2 separate regions of the Homo sapiens genome follow, and region 2 is linked to region 1. The links are contacts of gene promoters, found by promoter capture Hi-C in human tissues and cell types (Jung and others, 2019). All regions are on one chromosome and are shown on one strand. Each heading gives the region's core, a stretch centred on a gene start or on the middle of the fragment in contact. The rest is flanking DNA. Distances are from core to core; before and after follow the strand shown.

Region 1 (4,125 bases), core at 1,351-3,850:
AGGAAGGGACAAGACCCCTTTTAGGCCAGAACTGCCTTCAGATCAGCCACGCTCCATGGGACTGTACCTCTGCCCTGGAGGCTGGAGAGGTCAGTGGCTGCAGACTGTCTCAAGGAGCCCCTGGCCCTGCCCACCTAGCCAGGGGTGCAGCCTTGCCAGAGAAGCAGAGAAGCGTCTGTGGCTGGGTGGGTGATATTGAAAGATTCCTTTCACCAGGGTGGAAGCCAGGATCTGAGGCGTGATGGAATGTGGACAGTGAGGCAGTGACAGCGCCACAAGGCAGGAGTCATCTCCAGGCACGTCCTTGGCCTGGAGCCCATAGGGACAAGCTCCTGGTGGTGCCTCACTTTGCCATCCTCTCTAAGCCGCAGACCTTGAATGGAATCAGTGCTCAAGAGTCTAATTGGGCCCACTCTGAGGATGCCTGCGGGAATATCAGCTTTTACCGCACCACACTGCACTTTACAGTGTGGGAGGGCCTGCCCCACGCACCACCTCACCTGTACTGCGGTTCTCAAACTTCACCCTACAGCCATTCTGTTGTAGGTGATCTCAGGGGCAGTTTGAGAAACAGTGGCTCAGGGTCTCACAGCAGCCCTCTGAGATAGGTTGGTTGCTATTGTCCCGATTTTTTCTCATCAAGAAACTGAGGCTCAGGTGAGCTAAGGAATGTGCCCAGGGCCACTGTTTATAAGAAGTAGCCTCAAGCCTTGCTCATGGTTACTGCCCTGACAGGGATCTAGGAAAGAGTGAGCAGGAGAATGGGATGAGGCAGGACCCTCCGCCCCAGCCCTGCTTTCTCTGCCCAGACACCTCCTGCCTTGCAGACCCAACCCCACCCCAGATGGTTTCCTTTCCAGTCACCCAGCTGCTAGTTCTCCAGGTTCCTGGTCTCACTCCAGGTTCCTCCTGTTAGAGAAGCATCCCAGAGACATTCATTCCTGGCAAGGACACAGGCCTGCGGACCTGAAGGTCAGGTGGGCAGAGCCACATAAGATCTGGTGCCCCATCCTCCATTTAAAAAATTATACTTTCCAACGGCATTGGTATAAAGGTGAATATATTAATATCATATATTAAAACATTTTCTTTGACATAAAGGTTTCTTTCTTCTGCCTTTAAAATAAAATATTTTGGCCAGGTGTAATGGTTCACACCTATAATCCCAGCACTTGGGAAGGCTGAGGCAGGAGGATCACTTGAGCCCAAGAGTTCAAGACCAGCCTGGGCAACATAGAGACCCTGTCTCTACAAATTTTTTTTAATCAGCTGGGCGTGGTGGTGCTTGCCTGTGTTCCCAGACACTAGGAAGGCTGAGGCAGGAGGGGAGGGTCACTTGAGCCCAGGAGTTTGAGGCTGCAGTGAGCTGTGATCATGCCACTGCACTCCAGTGTGGGCACCAGAGAAGGAGCTTGTCTCTAAAAAGAGAGAAAAAGAATATTTTCAAGAGCCTCTGTGTTGGCAGAAAAATGGCCCTTCAGAGATGTTCATGTCCTATACCTGTGCCTGTGTTAGATTACATGGCAGACCCGGCATAGTGGCTCACGCCTGTACTGTAATCCCAGCACTTTGGGAGGCCGAGGCAGGCAGATCATTTGAGGTCAGGAGTTTGAGACCAGCCTGACCAACATGGTGAAACCCCATCTCTACTAAAAATACAAAAAAAATTAGCCGGGCATGGTGGTGCGTGCCTGCAGTCCCAGCTACTCGGGAGGCTGAGGCAGGAAAATCGCTTGAACCAGGGAGGCAGAGGTTGCAGTGAGTCGAGGTCATGCCACTGCAGTACAGCCTGGGTGACAGGGTGAGACTCCGTGTCAAAAAAAAATAATAATAATAATAAGGGGCAAAGGGGAATTAAGGTTGCTAATCAACTGATTTAGAGAGATGATGCTGGACTATCTGGGTGGGCCCAATGGCATCAGGAGGGTCTTTAGAAGTAGCAGAAGGAAGCAGAGGAGGGAACCAGAGGTGGCAGTGTGAGAAAGGCTCAACTGGCCATTGCTGGCTTCGAGGCTGTAGGAAGGGGCCACGAGCCAAGGTATGCAGGGAGCCCTTAGGAGCTGGAAAAGGCAGGGGAACAGTTTCTCCCCTAGAATCCTCAGAAAGGAACGCATTCTGGCGATCCCTGGATCTTCGCCCACTGAGGCTAAGTGGACTTCTGACCTCCAGAACGGAAAGATAACAAAAGCCTCAACGTTTGTGGAAACAAACAACTCATAATGAGCCTGGGACTGTGCCTCCTTCCCGGACGGATGAGCCTGCCTGGGCAGTCTGGGTTTGCATCCCTGCTCTGTCACTTACCAGCTATTGACGGCAGAAGTTGCTTAATTTCTGGGCGCTGTGACCTAGGGATTGCTTTCCCCATCCAGCCGCCCACCCAAAGCTGCAGAAGAGAAGCAAGAGGCTGGTGACTGGGGCGGCTCCGGAGCCCAGGTGGAGCCGCAGTTCGCCTACCACTAAAGGGCCGCAGTCACCGTCCACGTAGCCGCCAGGGGGCAGCAGAGGTCCGGCCCCGCCAGCCTGGAGGCCCGACTGCGCCTGCGCGGCGCCCGCGGCGCCCGCGGCGGCCAGGGACGGGAAGTGGGCGGGGCCGGCCGGCAGCAGCTTGCGGGACACGGAGCCGCGAGGAGACAGCTGAGGCCCGCGGAGACCAGGGGTGAGGAGGCCGGGGGGGACGGGATTAGAGGGCTGACGGGGCTGGGACGAGGGTCAGGCGAGCGCCCAAGGCGCACAGGGGTGAAATGGGACCGAGGAACCGGAGGGGTGGAATCAGAGGGCTGGGGAGGCAAGGAGGCCGAGACGAGGCTCACATGGGTGCACCGAAAGGGTGCGGGGGTGCAGTGCGGGGGGCCGAGGAGCAAGAGGGGCCGCTGCGGACATGAGGAACCCGAGGCTGGGAGTTGGGGGGCTGGGGAGCCAAGGGGGCAGAACTGGGGGGCAGGCGGGGGTGTGGCCGAGCCGAGGGCCTGGTAGGGACCGAGGGCTATGAGGCAGAATCGGGTGCTGAGGGGGACGCGCCCCATTTTCCGAGATTTGGCCTCTCCCCACCCCCCAGGAGCCTCTGGGCCGGCACGTTGCCCCATATCCCCCCAGTCCCTGCACCTTCAGGGGCCCAGTCTGCCTGATGGCCCCCGGCTCCGCGGCCTCCCAAGCGTCCGTGAAGCGAGCGTCAGCTGCACAAGTGCTCGGGCTGCAGCTGCTTCAGCCACAGGTCTGTGAGCCAGAGCCTCAGGCGCGGAGGCCGGGCACATTGCCGCTGGGTTCGGTCAGGCAAGCCCCTGAACCTGTCTGTACAACAGGAAGAACTGGCTCCGGCTGCAGGGATTTCGGCACAGCGCTTGACACACAGTGAGGCCCACTGCATGGTGGCGGGCTCCTTCGAAGCCTTCCACCCTGCGGGACAGAGTCACACATGTCGTGGTGGCATTCCCCGGGACAAGTTCTCTGGGCCCAGCTGAGCTCTCACCACGGGGGATAGAAAGTGGGGCCGGCCAGCACTCTGAGGCCATCTCCAGTCTCTTCTGTTGTCAAATTTCGCTCTTTTCCTCCTGCACGCGAGGTGGAAATACCAAAGGCATTGGGCATCCAGAGACCTTGATTGAGTTCGCTTTGCCCTTTCACCTGTGTGAGACCTTAAATGGGTGCTTGCCCTCCTATAACCTATTTCTTCATCTGCAGTGTAGCCTGACAGTATGTACTTCTCAGCGTAGTTGTGAGAGGTAAACAAAACGAATGCATTTCTGAAAGCCATGAACCTCTACACAAGTTCATTTGTGGAATTCCTTTAAGATACCCCCTGAAGGCCGGGCGCGGTGGCTCATACCTGTAATCCCAGCACTTTGGGAGGCCGAGGCAGGCATATCACCTGAGGTCAAGAGTTCCAGACCAGCATGGCAAAATCCCATCTCTACTAAAAATACAAAAATTAGCCGCGCGTGGTGGCAGGTGCCTGTAATCCTAGCTACTCAGGAGGCTGAGGCAGGAGAATTGCTTGAACCTGGGAGGCGAAGGTTGCAGTGAGCTGAGATCCCACCATTGCACTCCAGCCTGGGCAACAAGAGCGAAACTCCCTCTCAAAAAAAAAAAAAAAAAAAAAAAGGATACCATCTGACCTGAAGCCAACCG
Region 2 (4,236 bases), core at 1,348-3,847, 330 kb after region 1:
ACTCTGGCTTTACAACTGATTTACAGCTAATGTGCTTTTAAGCCAAAGCTGCCTCCTATTTATCCAAAATTCTGACTGCCAGAAAACTCATCTTTCCTCTGTGATTAGAAGACACTGATGGACAACAAATAGCTAACACTACAGTGGATAATTGTTCACAGTGATGTGCTTCCGCCTCCAGGAAGCCTTCCTGACCTAACACCTGGGGAGGTCTTAGCCCTCAGTCACTCCCAGCCCTTTTTTCTTGGCGGGGGGTTGGGGAGGAGGGACAGGGTCTCACTCTGTCACCTAGGCTGCAGTGCAGTGGCACCATCTTGGCTCACTGCAGCCTCAACCTCCTGGGTTGACCTCAAGCAATCCTCCAGCCTCAGTCCCCCAAGTAGCCAGGACTACAGTCGTGCACCACCATGCCCGGCTAATCCAGTCCTCTTGTGTACTCTGGAGATAGGAGGCCTAGTATTGAACTGACTGCTCACTCTCATGCATGCACACAGGGTCACTTTCTTCAGGGCAGGACCGGGTAGAACTTCCCTGCATCAGCCCAGCACCCAGCACCATGCTCGGCTCAGGGAAGTTTCGGTTAAGGTGACTGAGTGGGCACTAGAGAGAAGGGTATGTGATGGCGCTGCACTTGTCAATGCGCAATGACCCAACTCTGGAAGACCCTTAGGAGTTTCTGAACCCTCTAGAAAGGGTCACTGGGGCCAGCCAATGGGAAGCTGACAACCGCCATCGCATCACATTGTCAAGACCACAGGCAGATGTCACGCTGATGGCTCTGATGGGTGCCACAGTACTCCCCCTAGGTGCCGTAGCCCAGACGTGCCCCAGGGTGGAAGGATAGTGGGGAATCAGAAGCAGCTGCTACCCACACCTCCTCACATACTTTGCCACAGTTGCCCCCTGACCCTGTCAGGACCAGCACCCTCAGAATGTTCCTTCCCACTGTAAAACAGTGCCCCTCTTCTCCGAACTGCTGATGCCACAAATTCCTTCTTATTTTTTTTAGACAGTCTTGCTGTCACTCAGACTGGAGTGCAGTGGCTCAATCATACTTTACTGCACGGTACCCTCAAACTCCTGGGTGTAAATGATCCTCCTGCCTCAGCTTCCTGAGTAGCTGAGACTACAAGCACATGCCATCACGTCCAGCTAATTTTTTTTTTTAACCTAGGCTAGAGTACAGTGGTGCAATCACAGCTCACTGCAGTCTTATCTCCTGGGCTCAAACAATCCTCCCACCTTGGCCTTGAGAGTAGTTGGGATTACGGGTGTTAGCCACTGCTCCTGGCCTAGTTTTTTGTAGAGATGGGGTCTCACTATGTTGCCCAGGCTGGTCTCAAACTCCTGGGCTTGAGTGATCCTACCGCCTCATCCTCCCAAAAGTGCTAGGATGACAGGCATGAAGCCACTGCACCTGGTCAATTCCTTTATTAAGGGCTCATATTGTTCATTCAGCATTACAAGAAATGGATTAAAATGCAAATGCTAGCCAGGCAGATCACCTGAGGTCAGGAGCTCAAGACCAGCCTGGGCAACATGGTGAAACCCCGTCTCTACTAAAAATACAAAAATTAGCCAGGCATGGTGGCCCATGCCTAGAGTCCCAGCTACTCAGGAGGCTGAGGCAGGAGAATCGCTTGAACCCGGGAGACGGCAGTTGCAGTGAGCCGAGATCGTGCCACTGCACTCTAGCTTGGGCAACAGAGCGAGACTCTGTCTCAAAAGTAAATAAATAAAACAAAATGCTGATGCTGGCTGAGTCATATGCAAAGGCATAATCATTCAACAGCACACATTAAGTGAGGGCCACAGCACAAAGTACTCCTGGCCTGGTGTCCAAAACCCACCTGCCTAACCTCTGCTTTTTACTGTGCCTGGTGAGAATGGGAAAGAGAGGGCTCCTGTGACCACAGTGGGTAGAGGTGAAGCAGTGGGGCAGAGGCGAGGAGGGCATTGCGCATGCAATGCTGACAGGTTCCACGTTTGTTGGGGGTGGATGGGCAAGGAGGGTGGACTGTGAACAGCAAGCAGGGGCAAGGGGCCTGGAAAGCTCTCTGCAGGCCAGGGTGGCCTCTAATTCAGTCTCTAAGCCTCTTCAGGGGTAGGTGGTATCACCTCCCTGTACAAGCCACCTGTACCTCTAGAGGCAGCAGGCCCTGGAGGTATATTTTTATTTAATAAACATTTATTTATTTATTTAATAAACGAAGCCCACCCTTGGCTGACTGGCCACAGTGTATTTCAGTGCACACCACCCTCGGTGTGAGACTGCTCCCTTTTCCTGGCTGTTCTTGACTTCAGGGCTGGAAATTGAGCCACAGTCGCCTAAGAGCACAAATAGGTGGCTCCCCTTCCTTTCCCATGATTAGAAATGGCCCTGTAACAGGAGAATTACTACCGCATTAGCATTTTAGAAACCTCACTGGGCTAAGGACAGGCTGAGTACTTCGTTAGGGGCACGCTCAGGAGTTTTCACCTCACTCTCTGATATGAATACTTAGGCTCTCTACTTCTCACTATCATCACCTTGGTAACTAATGCAGAGGTTGGTGGCTCACACCTGTATTCCCAGCACTTTGGGAGGCCAAGGAGGAAGGATCACTTGAGGCCAGGAGTCTGAGACTGGCCTGGGCAACATAGCAAGACCTGGCCTCTACAAAAAATAAAAAATAAAATTAGCCGGTTGTGGTGGCACATGCCTGTAGTCCCAGCTCCTTGGGAGGCTGAGGTGGGATGATTGCTTGAGCCCACAATATTGAGGCTGTAGTGAGCTGTGATTGTGCCACTATACTCAGCCTGAGTGACACAGCAAGACCCTATCGCAAAAAAAAAATAATATATATATATATTTTTTGAGATGGAGTCTCGCTCTGTCGCCCAGGCTGAGTTAGTGGCACAATCACAGCTCACAATCTCGGCTCACTGCAAGCTCCGCCTCCCAGGCTCATGCCATTCTCCTGCCTCAGCCTCCCGGGTAGTGGGATTACAGGCACCTGCCACCATGCCCGGCTAATTTTCTGTAATTTTTTAGTAGAGACGGGGTTTCACCGTGTTAGCCAGGATGGTCTCGATCTCCTGACCTCGTGATCCACCTGCCTCCGCCTCCCAAAGTGCTGGATTACAGGCGTGAGCCACTGCACCTGGCAAAATAAAAATTTAAAGACCTATTTCTCAAAAGATGCCATTTGTCTATTTCGTTATTTTTTATAGTTTCACTAATTTGATCAAGTCTGAATTTTTTTTTTAATTGAGATGGCGTCTCACTCTGTCGCCCAGGCTGGAGTGCAGTGGCACAATCTCAGCTCACTGAAACCTCCACCTCCTGGGTTCAAGGGATTCTCCTGCCTCAACTTCCCCAGTAGCTGGGACTACAGGCATCCGCCACCACGCCTTGCTAATTCTTTGTAATTTTAGTAAAGATGGGGTTTCACCATGTTACCCAGGATGGTCTTGATCTCCTGACCTCATGATCCACCCATCTCATCCTCCCAAAGTGCTGGGATTACAGGCATGAGCCACCATGCCCGGCCTCAAGTCTGAGTATTTTTAAATTTACTTAGTAGTTCTGATAAGTATTTCATTCTTTCGCTGTTCCCCTGGGTGCATTTCTGGCTCCTTAGCTAAACTATAATAAACTTCAGCTGAGCTGAACTTATTTTGCTAGTAAGAACACCTGACAGATTGTCTGCTTTACAAATTACAACTGTGGCCCTCTATCAACATTTTTCATATATAGGACAGCATATTAAAATTATATTTTATAAAACATCCAGCCCTGGGTTCTTGGTCTCTTCCATGACCCAAATGCTCCTCAGAAGTACTTTTTTTTTCTGCAAAATGTAGGGGCTTAAAAACATACAACAGGCCGGGCGCAGCAGCTCACACTTGTAACCCTAGCACTTTGGGAAGCCGAAGTGGGCAGACTGTCTGAGCTCAGGAGTTCAAGACCAGCCTGGGCAATATGGTGAAACCTTGTCTCTACTAAAATACAAAAAACTAGCCAGGTGTGGTGGCATGCGCCTGTAGTCCCAGCTACTCGGGAGGCTGAGGGAGGAGAAATGCTTGAATCCAGGAGGCGGAGGTTGCAATGAGCCAAGATTATGCCACTGCACTCCAGCCTGGGTGACAAAGTGAGACTCTGTCCCCCCAACAAAAAACAAAAAACAAAAAACCCACACAACAAATTAGCCAATTTTACCTTTTACTCTCACTATATTCTCATCAGAGAATAAA

Evidence for each region. The method cuts DNA at HindIII sites, captures the fragments that hold promoters and counts their contacts. A contact is called where the count stands out against the background at its distance.
Region 2: a fragment that was not itself captured here is called in contact with the fragment with the promoter of PPM1F in region 1 in 3 of the 25 tissues and cell types used here (heart left ventricle, lymphoblastoid cells and mesendoderm cells).

What each region holds. Positions count from the first base shown.
Region 1 is chr22:21,951,323-21,955,447 of GRCh38, reverse strand. It overlaps PPM1F (protein phosphatase, Mg2+/Mn2+ dependent 1F), which reads left to right and starts at 2,600. Exons shown (of 8, transcript NM_014634.4): 1 at 2,600-2,656. RefSeq lists a silencer at 2,408-2,817 and enhancers at 2,811-3,331, 3,378-3,447. The HindIII fragment of the contact is 12,140 bases long and covers 1-4,125 here.
Region 2 is chr22:21,617,197-21,621,432 of GRCh38, reverse strand. The region is part of intron 3 of UBE2L3 (ubiquitin conjugating enzyme E2 L3); the gene reads right to left. Among named protein-coding and RNA genes, the nearest start is that of YDJC, 11 kb to the left of the region's middle. The HindIII fragment of the contact is 9,374 bases long and covers 1-4,236 here.